Regions from separate parts of the Homo sapiens genome. Here region 2 is linked to region 1. Evidence: promoter capture Hi-C in 16 types of primary human blood cells and fetal thymus (Javierre and others, 2016). All regions are on one chromosome and are shown on one strand. The core of a region is centred on a gene start or on the middle of the fragment in contact, and the rest is flanking DNA. Distances in the headings are between cores, read along the strand shown. Region 1 holds the start of MIR155HG (MIR155 host gene). Region 2 overlaps APP (amyloid beta precursor protein).

Region 1 (5,108 bases), core at 322-2,821:
CCCCAGCTCCTCAACGTCACATGGATCTGGAAAGCAGGGAGACTGGACTACGGAGCCAGCCCTCCAGGGTTGGAACTGAGTTTGAATCTCAGCTTGACTACTTACTAGGATCTAAGGTAACATGTTTAATCTCTCTGTGCTCAGTTTCCTCATCTGGAAATAGAGATTATAATGCTCCTCCCTCATATGATCATAGTGAGGACTGAAAGAGTTAATGCATATAAGGAGTGTTAGGACAGGATCTGGCACATGGTAAATGCTTTATAAGTGTTAGTTGTTATCATCATGATTATTCTTGTTTGAATTATAAGAGAAAAAGCATGTATCTTAAGAATAGAGGGTTTTAAAATGCTCCCAAGTTCCTTAACCAACCTGAGCCATCTGTAAATTAAGTACTATGGGATTTCCAGCTCTGACATGTATTCTGACATGTAACTGGCATCAGTTTAATACAAACTATTCTAAAATGTCTTGTGCCCTTGACAGGGAGGTCCAAGTACTGGATACTTGCAATGCAATCCAGCAGTGGCCCCGTCTTTCTTACAAAAAGGCCCCAGTCACATGTTGATGAGGCTAGATCTATTCCTGTCCTCCTTCTCTTCCCCATATTTCCTTATTCTTCTTCAAGTCTAAACGTTTATTGAACTGAGACCCATGAATGAGTTACTCGACTAGGCTTGTAGGATAAACTTGCCAGGCTTTAGATCTATTTGTTCCTTTCCATCCCCCAAAATCAAATGGCTGCTCCAGGAAAATGTTCCCCTTGTGGCAGGGTCCGGGAGAAAAGAGAGAAGCGACAAAACCAAAAATTAAAACGACCGAAGTCCCATATGCTCCAGGAATATGTCCTGGAGATGGGAGTGGAGGGCAGGGGGAGAATGTTGTTGAGGTCAAAATTTTTGAAGTTTTAAGTCCTATATCTTGACATCCCGAGTATAAATGCGGGTACCAGACACAGTACAAACGTTCTCAAAGCCCAGTTACGTATTCCAAACCAAACGCGGGCTCTTGAAGGGTGATGAGGTAGGGATGAAATCCAGGATCGCCTGAAGACCATTTCTTCCTCTCTTAGGGACCTGCTGGTCTCCAGCTGATTCGGTCCAGGAGGAAAAACCTCCCACTTGCTCCTCTCGGGCTCCCTGCAAGGAGAGAGTAGAGACACTCCTGCCACCCAGTTGCAAGAAGTCGCCACTTCCCCCTCCAGCCGACTGAAAGTTCGGGCGACGTCTGGGCCGTCATTTGAAGGCGTTTCCTTTTCTTTAAGAACAAAGGTTGGAGCCCAAGCCTTGCGGCGCGGTGCAGGAAAGTACACGGCGTGTGTTGAGAGAAAAAAAATACACACACGCAATGACCCACGAGAAAGGGAAAGGGGAAAACACCAACTACCCGGGCGCTGGGCTTTTTCGACTTTTCCTTTAAAAAGAAAAAAGTTTTTCAAGCTGTAGGTTCCAAGAACAGGCAGGAGGGGGGAGAAGGGGGGGGGGGTTGCAGAAAAGGCGCCTGGTCGGTTATGAGTCACAAGTGAGTTATAAAAGGGTCGCACGTTCGCAGGCGCGGGCTTCCTGTGCGCGGCCGAGCCCGGGCCCAGCGCCGCCTGCAGCCTCGGGAAGGGAGCGGATAGCGGAGCCCCGAGCCGCCCGCAGAGCAAGCGCGGGGAACCAAGGAGACGCTCCTGGCACTGCAGGTACGCCGACTTCAGTCTCGCGCTCCCGCCCGCCTTTCCTCTCTTGAACGTGGCAGGGACGCCGGGGGACTTCGGTGCGAGGGTCACCGCCGGGTTAACTGGCGAGGCAAGGCGGGGGCAGCGCGCACGTGGCCGTGGAGCCCGGCCTGGTCCCGCGCGCGCCTGCGGGTGCCCCCTGGGGACTCAGTGGTGTCGCCTCGCCCGGGACCAGAGATTGCGCTGGATGGATTCCCGCGGGCAGAGGCAGGGGGAAGGAGGGGTGTTCGAAACCTAATACTTGAGCTTCTTTGCAAAGTTTCCTTGGATGGTTGGGGACGTACCTGTATAATGGCCCTGGACCAGCTTCCCTGTTGGAGTGGCCAGAGAAGTGTGTAAAACACACTAGAGGGGCAGGGTGGAAAAAGAGACTGCCTTCAAAACTTGTATCTTTTCGATTTCATTTTGAAAAATAACTACAAATCTATTTTAATTTTACAAAGTTAGACTCATAGCATTTTAGATATCAATGTCTTCATTTAACAGAAGTGAAGATGGAGCAAACGCTCAATCAGCGTCTGTATTTATTCGCTCCTGTTGTGCCAGGGTGCGTTTTTGCCGAGCGGTTGCCTTTCTTTACTCACAAAACCCCCTTGATGTCTGTCCTCCACGTTTTACGAGGGAGAGCCGGATCTTTTGAAGTTTGTATCATCTAAAGCAGGTATATTGGGATGACTATGGATAGAATTTAACCTGAAAACACTGAAGTTGACAGCTGACAAAGATATAAGAATCCAAAGTATGTTAAAAATTAAGGAGCTGAGGCCCACAGAAGTGAAGTTACTTTTCCAGCATCACACAGCAGATCTAGGACCCTGTGTGATTTGAAAAGGCCAAGGTATCTAATGATGCTCATAATTTAGTTTACATTTTGTGTCAAATAGATGAGGTCAAGTGGACATTATGTGTATATTCCAAAGCCAAAATTACTGCTTGTAATATCCATTCATCTCTCCGAAGACGTAGTGCCTCTTTTATATGGCTTTAACCTAATGTATAATCGAAGTGAATTAGGGCAGCCAGACTTTTAATCACAGGACTGATCTTTTAAAAACGGGTATATGTAAAGTTAATTGCTTATCTATGTGAACAGTAATATACACTATAAAAAGTTTTCAAGGCAACTTCCTGCCTGTGGTTTAATTTGATAGTCACAATGATAGGAAATTGGCAGGGTTAGGTGGTGGTATCTACATTTTGCCCATGAGGACTTGTGGCTCAGAGAATTTGAGTTTTTTCTAGTAAGGTCACTAGGTCCCTAGTGCACAGCCTGCTTTTAGGTACGGATGTGGGATGGGGGTGTCGGCAGACCACAGGGTTTTGACTCTCAGTTTGGGCTCATTTCCATGACTCCTTGCTGCCTCCCTGATTTCTGTCAAATGACCAAAGCACATTTAGTAATTACTTCTGCTGCAAGGACTACTCCTTATTAGGCTGTGATAAGTAAGTTTCCTCACATAGTGGGTCAGCTCACTCTGGCCACAGGACCCAGCTTCCTAACCACACACATTAAGAAAGAGAAAAATTAGCACTGTCTGAGACCTACAACCACTTCAAGGGAGAACAGTGGTGTTTGCACAAATGTCTACTTTTGTTTTAACCTAGTCATGTGTAAAAAGTGTAATTCACTGGTCTTTACCAAAAAAAAAAAAAAAAAAACAACAACAAAAAAAAAACAGGCATCATAGTCTGCCTGTGCTGGACGCTATGCTAGACACTGGAGAGACAAAGGTGAGCAGGATAGGCACAACCCTACCCTTACAAACCCAGAAAGTTAGAGGAAAGGCCATCAGGACATTGCTGTGCAATTTGATATCATTTCAATTTTGGTAACATAGATATTTGAACTAATTAGAATGTGCTACAAATTTTGCCATTCTTTACTTTCCATATGCCAACATGGAAAATTTGTAACCCTCATCTTTAAATACCTCATCTTACCAGTCCTCTATAAATCAAAAAATCTACCCCAAAAAGCCCTAGGTTTTAACTTTTGAAAAGTTTTTTTTTATCAGCTTTTCAGGTCATGACTAAGATCTGCCATTCAATTTAAAGGAATTCTTTCATTTTAGAGTAATAGTTACTAAAATCCTTTATTCCTACCTCCTTGAGAATCTAATGGAAATTTTATATGCTCTTCCCAGAAAATTTTTGTTAATGTGTATCCTCACACACCAATTTGCATTCGATGTTAGCAGGCTAGAGACTTCCTTGAATCTCAGCCATGACCCTCTTCGGGGGTCCACTTTCATAATCAGTATTCTAAACCTAGTAGGCATAAATAGCTTGAATAGAGGAAAGTGGTATGTAGACTCTTGCCCTTCACTTGGACTGGGCACCTCTATCACTTGGACTGGGCACCAGCTAGTGCCCTTAACTAGCTGGTGTCTCCATTTTTGATAGTCATTGGCTATTGCTTAGCTGAAGCTATTGATTTTAACAGCCTTATTGTTTTGATATCAGGCTGCCACTCTGCAGAAGTCTAATACTGGGGAAGGAGCACCGGCCTGAGAACCATGGTTTGTTTCTAGGACCAACTCTGCAGATTTCTGTGCCTCATTTTGCTCATCTCTAAGATGGGTGGTTGATGGGTGGCAGGGACTGAACCATTTCTAAAATCCCTTACACTGATGAAATTCTGTGATTCCAGTGTAACTACCAAGCTCACTTTCATATACCTCCTGAGACACAGCTGGTCTTAGTGAATTTATATCCTCTATGTCCAAAGTAAGTCAAAGTAAGTACCACTATAATTCACTATAGAATGTATTTTTGTCTTTCACTGATCTTACTGGACTCAAAACTGTTACATGTTTCCTTAAATTAGATAGAATAAAAAAATTGTGAAACACTACTTTTCAAGGAAAAATATTACAATTTTAAAAGCCTCTTTTTATCCCACCTCTCAGTAGCTACAACTTTCATATACGAGTTTCACATATATATGAAAAAAATTTTCTTATCTCAGACTCTTAAGGAAATGCAATGCTTTTAATATGATCACTGCTGTGTAATTCTCATCTGCCCTGAAACACTTGTTCTGTCCATCAATCAATGTATTTGGGTTTACAATATGCAGAGCCTCAAGCAAAACCAGTGCAAAAGCACATCTATCCTCAAATAGGCACATCATATGTCTGAGCAGTTCAGCATCCTCACTCACAAGTCCAAGGCTCTCAGCAATGTGGAAGAAGATGTGATTCCTAAAATTACCACCCTTACACACAGTGACACACTCACCAGAAAGTGAGGCTTAACATAGCTTAAGTGGCTGTAGTTTAAAACAGATTGTGAATATCTGTGCTAATTCTGAGAAACAATTAGCAGACATATTAACCAATTAGCACAGATCACTAATATCTGTGCTAATTGTTAGGACAGATTAGCA
Region 2 (5,316 bases), core at 2,403-4,902, 510 kb after region 1:
TGTTACAAGTATTTAATAATTCCAACATTCGTTAAAAGATGGAATTGTAAGAGTAATAGTTGTTAAAGCTTTCCAGATTAGGGGTTTTCAAACTCAAACCATGCTTCAAAATCACCTGGGATCCTGATCAGTCTGCAGATTCATCTTCTCCCTAGCTCCACAGCCTAGATCTGATTTACGTGTTCTGGGACGCGCCTGAAAACAGACCTTCCCAGGGTGGCTCTGCTTCAGGTGGCTCATGGATCACACTTTGAGAAATGATATTTGGAGCAGGGCTTCTCAAGCTTTACAGTGCCTATGAATCACCTGGGGGCCTTGTTAAAATGCAGGTTTTGATTGGACAAGTCTAGGGTGGGACTGAGTCTGCTTTTCTAACAAGCTCCCAAGTGATGTGATTCAGCTGTTCCTTCCGGCAGTAAGGGTCTACTTAAGATAACCCATTACAACTAATCTCATTAAGGTTTTTAAAAATTTTAAGTTACAAGTTATTGCTTTGTAAGACACTCTTTGCTTACCCACTTTTAATTATACAGTTTAGTGTTAAGTAGATTCATATCGTTGTACAACCATCACTACCTTCCATCTCCAGAACTGTTTTCATCTTGCTAAACTAAAACCCTGCACACCATTAAACAACTCCCCATTCCCCCACCTCCACTCCCCATTCCCCCACCTCCACTCCCCATTCCCCCACCTCCAGAACCTGGAAACCACCATTCTGTTTTCCATCTTTTTGAATTTGACTCTTCAAATTCAAAAAGGTACCGCATATAAGTAGAATCAAGTATCTGTCTTTTGGTGACTAGCTTGCTGTGTCCTTTTAAAAAATAAAAATTTTCATGCTTCTCTTCCATAAACCTGCATCTCATCCTATAGATTTGTCACTTTTGGCACCAACTTAAGGACTGAGCGCCTTTTCACACATCCCTAAGAGCCAAGCTGCTCCTGGTTCGCCTTTTGTTTAATTATAGAAGTTACAAAATAAGGTAGAAAGAGTTCTAGATTTGAAAACAACACAATGACTCAAGCAGATCAAGTGATTTCCAAATATTAAAAGGTGATATGATAAATGCCTCCTGGCCAGAGAGGTGCACATAGGGTGAGAGACAAGAATAAAAATTAAAACTTAACATAATTTGATAAGAGATCATCTCTGCTACTGCTGAGTATTACTAAATACCATTCTATGCAGGTCCATGTAGGATACAAAAGAACCGAGATATAGTTCTGGACCAAAACAGCTTGGAGCAGCTTTGTCTCACAGAAATATAATAGAGGCCACATATCTAATTTAAAATTTCCTGTAGCCACATTAACATAAAAAGGTAAAAAGAAACAGGTAAAATTAATTTTATTAATATATTTTAACCCAGTACATCCTAAATTTCATCATTTCAACATGCAATCAATGTAAATAATTATCATTAAGACATTCTACATTTGTTTTTTTCTCCCAGACTAACTTTTTAATATCTGGTGGGTTTTTTATACTCACAGCATAGTTTGGACTAGCCAGGTTTCAAATATTCAATGGCCATGGGTGGCTAGTGGCCACCGTTGGGCAAGACAGACTTAGCATCAGATTTTAGAGATCAATAATATATTTCAAGGAGTAGTGACTTGAATGTGGACAGGTTGGGGTTATGGGAGAAAATCTAAAGCCAAAGACACAAACCTAGGCAGAGAAACCATAATAAGCTTGAATACACTGAGACTGCAGTACACCATTTTATGCGCTATGCTATCTTAACGCATACATTTTAGTCAATGGGAGGCATATCACTAGGATTCTATGTTACCATCATTAACCCTATTGATCAGCAAACTGCTCATCTCCCCCCATTTCTCTTGTTGCAGTTCTCATATCATAAATTGTATTTATAGGTGTGTGATTAATTCTAATACAGAAATTAATTTAAGGTTTCCTTTAGACTTGAACCTACTTTAGCTTAGTTCAGTCCTCTGTATCCCGAGAGATGAGCTGAAAAAGCAGATATAGTAGAGATAATTCTAAATTCCCTACTTTGTTTCTTCAAAATATAGGTATTCTCACTGGTTGCTTTCTCCTAACACTTTCCTTTCTTTCTGCCTTATTTAAAAAAAAAAAACAAAAAACTCAAAGCCTGATAGATTTTAGAGACGCAATTAATTAAGGTTATATACGGGGCTTTTTAAAAACCACATAATTGCCGACAAAATACCAACCAGGTTGGTGTTCCGTGAGGCAAAAGAACCACAAGTCATTACCAAAACCTTAACTCATATGGGAAGGTAAAAATATACAGCATGCTGTTTTCACATACCATACTCAGAAAGCCATGTGCGAGGGAGGCTATAATCAAGACAGGAAGAGGCATTTTCACAGATAACTTCTTAACGGGGTTGTAGACTGTCACTCTCACGCCCCTCACTTGTTCTTTCCAACCTATTACCATCTGGCCTTGCTCCAACAATCTGCAACTCTTCTTTCAAGGTCAAGAACAACAAATGCCATCAGTCTCTTCTCAGCCCTCCAGTTCTCTGACTACTCTGCCACATTCTCTTTTTTTTTTTTTTTTTAAAGAGACGGGGATACCCTCTGTCAACCAGGCTGGAGTGCAGTGCTGTGATCATAGCTCACTGCAGCCTCCTGGGCTCAGACAACCTTCCTGTCTCAGCCTTCCAAGTAGCCGGGACTACCGGCACATGCCAACATGCCTGGCTAATTTTTTTTTTAATTATTTTTTGTAGAGACAGGGGTCTCGCCACGTTGCCCAAGCTGATCTCAAACTCCTGGCCTCAAGCAACTCTCCTAGCTTCAGCCTCCCAATTTGCTGGGATTCTAGGCATGGGCCACTGAACTTGGCCCACTTTTCTTCTTTAAATTCAATCTTCTCCAGTTTCCACCAATCTATCTCAAGCCAATCATTCTTTCCCTCTCATTGGCTCCTCTTTTCATAATTCTGATTATAAAGTAAGGCTCTGTCTTCTACTCTTCTTGCTTTCTCACTCAGACATATCATCCATGCCTAAGGGTCAACAGCCTCCTCCACTCTTTCAATTCTGACCTTTCACTTAGCATTCCCAGTCGCTTGCTGCATGCTTCCAATTGCAGGGTATTAATTACTTTTAGCAAATGTACTAGAATCAAGTGCCCAACTGATTATCAAATTCCGGAAGTGTACCCAAAGGACAATGACTAATTCCTCATTGGGTCAAAGTCTTTCCTATGTGGAAGCAAGAGAAAGGAACAGAACTAACACTGAACATTGTGAGGAGCCCAAAACATGACTCCTGCTGAACACATTCTATTTGGTTGTAGAACCCAACCAATATAGGCCCCGTTGATCGATTTCCCCACAACAAGAGGAGGTCATAAAAATCATGCTTCCACTTTCTCAATAGATACTTATCGCTCATGAATGTCTGTGAATCAGAAGACCATGGGACTATAACTCTACTCCACTCAAACTCTCCATACTCCCAAAGCTGGACCTCATGGTCCTCAGATCATGTAATACTCAGACACAGCACTCCAGTAAACCACTTTCTGGCCAGAAACTCATCCTTCCCATAGTTCCTCTCCCTTCCATCCACTACAGCTTGTTCATCATGATCCTGAGGTCCTGGATGCTGCAGCACTCTCTGCAGTTATCAGGGGAGGCTTCACTGCCTTCAGTTCATTTCCCTGCCAGCCTGGTCTAGGACCCTCAGCACACACACTCATCACTGCACATATCACCAACGACCACCCACATGCTTTTGATGCCCAGGCTCATTTGGTCCAGCCTATTTCTCTCCTAAGTGTGAGACTCAATAAATACACAACCACCCCACTGTGCTCTTCAAGAGCTTATTAACTGCCTCTTTTAGATTCTCCTGGGTATAGTCCAGACTTAAAATGCCTCACTTTGGGAGACAATGTAATTTAACCATTGGAGGAACAAATGTTGGTCTATATATTTCAGGCATTTTCCAAATAAAAACCTCCAAGAAAAAGCAAACTTGTATCTTAAAAGATGCAGAACTATTTAGGGCAAAAAGTACACAGAGAATGAGAAAGAAAAAAGATGTCACTGCATTTAACAAAAGAGTTAACAATATTGTTAACAATAACAAGAGTTAGCCATGAAGTAATTAGGATATAGTACTTGAAACTGGCACCACCTTTTACCAGGCATTACAATATTGCTATGAGTTCACAAAGCTCTGTTAGAGCAGAGGAAAAAGAAGGATTTGAATTCTGTCACTGTACTAGCAACACCACCTAGGGATGAGGAAGACAATATCTAATAGAATAACAAATAAAGTAAGTATACATGATTCATCAAGCTCTTCAATAAAAATGTATTTTAGAATTTATCAACATCCCTTTTGAATCATGTTTCAAAAATCACACAATCTGTTCAAACACGGATAGACCCCCAGATAAATCAGAATCTCTCTCTCTGTTACCACGCCTCTGTGGACTTAGAAATCACCACTTAGATTTGTAAACAAGGCTTAGTTTCATTATTGTAAATCAATTTGGCAGGACTTATCACTCCACAGAGAGCTGAAATAATTGAATTTCTGGACTTCTAAGGAAGAAGGTTTAAGTACATTAAGGCTTCCAAAAGGAAGATCACCAACTCTTCTTTAGCAGAAAATGCCCCTGGAGAATTTTGAACCATTTCTTGATCTAGTGGCAACTGGATGTTATCAGTGGCAACTAAGGTATCTGTCTACACCTGCTGAGGCTCACAAGTAAAAACTAAAAAGTACTGTGAATCTCTGTGATAATGGAGCGTAAAGCTACCACTTAAGTCTTTATTACTAGTAAGTAACGGATTTTAAGAAAAAAAGAGATACTCAAATCTATCTATAGATAACCAAAAAACCAAACAAAACACCCAGAAAAATCTAAGGTTGAAGAACATATATAATTTGAGACTTTTGAAACAAAACACCCAGAAAAATCTAAGGTTGAAGAACATGTATAATTTGAGACTTCTGATCAGAGCCTTCCTCAATAATGTAAGTTTAAAAACTATTACCAAAGTGACAAGATCCCATGTCAGATAGCAGAATGAGAACAAGGCTACTCTTCAACTTAGTCATCCTCTTTTATCACTACAACTTCAATCATAGATGTAAATGGAAATTTCTGCTTCCTTTGCTACTTTTCTGCTTGACTGAATTTTATAATGAAAAACGTCTGTTCCTTCCAGGCAGAGCACGAGTGTCATTCAAATTGTACACACCAGGCAAAGAGTGAATGCATTTGTTTAGATGCAAAAATCATTTAAATATGTGTCATTATAGGCTGCAGCACATTTGCGGATTCGGCAGTTTAAA

Evidence for each region. Contacts are between HindIII fragments. The CHiCAGO score rates a contact against its expected background, and 5 or more counts as called.
Region 2: a contact is called between a fragment that was not itself captured here and the fragment with the promoter of MIR155HG in region 1, in 1 of 17 cell types (non-activated CD4 T cells). The highest score is 5.1, in non-activated CD4 T cells.

Annotation. Positions count from the first base shown.
Region 1 is chr21:25,560,574-25,565,681 of GRCh38, forward strand. MIR155HG (MIR155 host gene) reads left to right here and starts at 1,572. Exons shown (of 3, transcript NR_001458.3): 1 at 1,572-1,684. RefSeq lists enhancers at 1,107-1,156, 4,299-4,378 and silencers at 1,537-1,626, 1,637-1,916, 4,837-4,896. The HindIII fragment of the contact is 13,141 bases long and covers 1-5,108 here.
Region 2 is chr21:26,065,822-26,071,137 of GRCh38, forward strand. The region is part of intron 3 of APP (amyloid beta precursor protein); the gene reads right to left. Among named protein-coding and RNA genes, the nearest start is that of APP, 100 kb to the right of the region's middle. The HindIII fragment of the contact is 3,912 bases long and covers 1,697-5,316 here.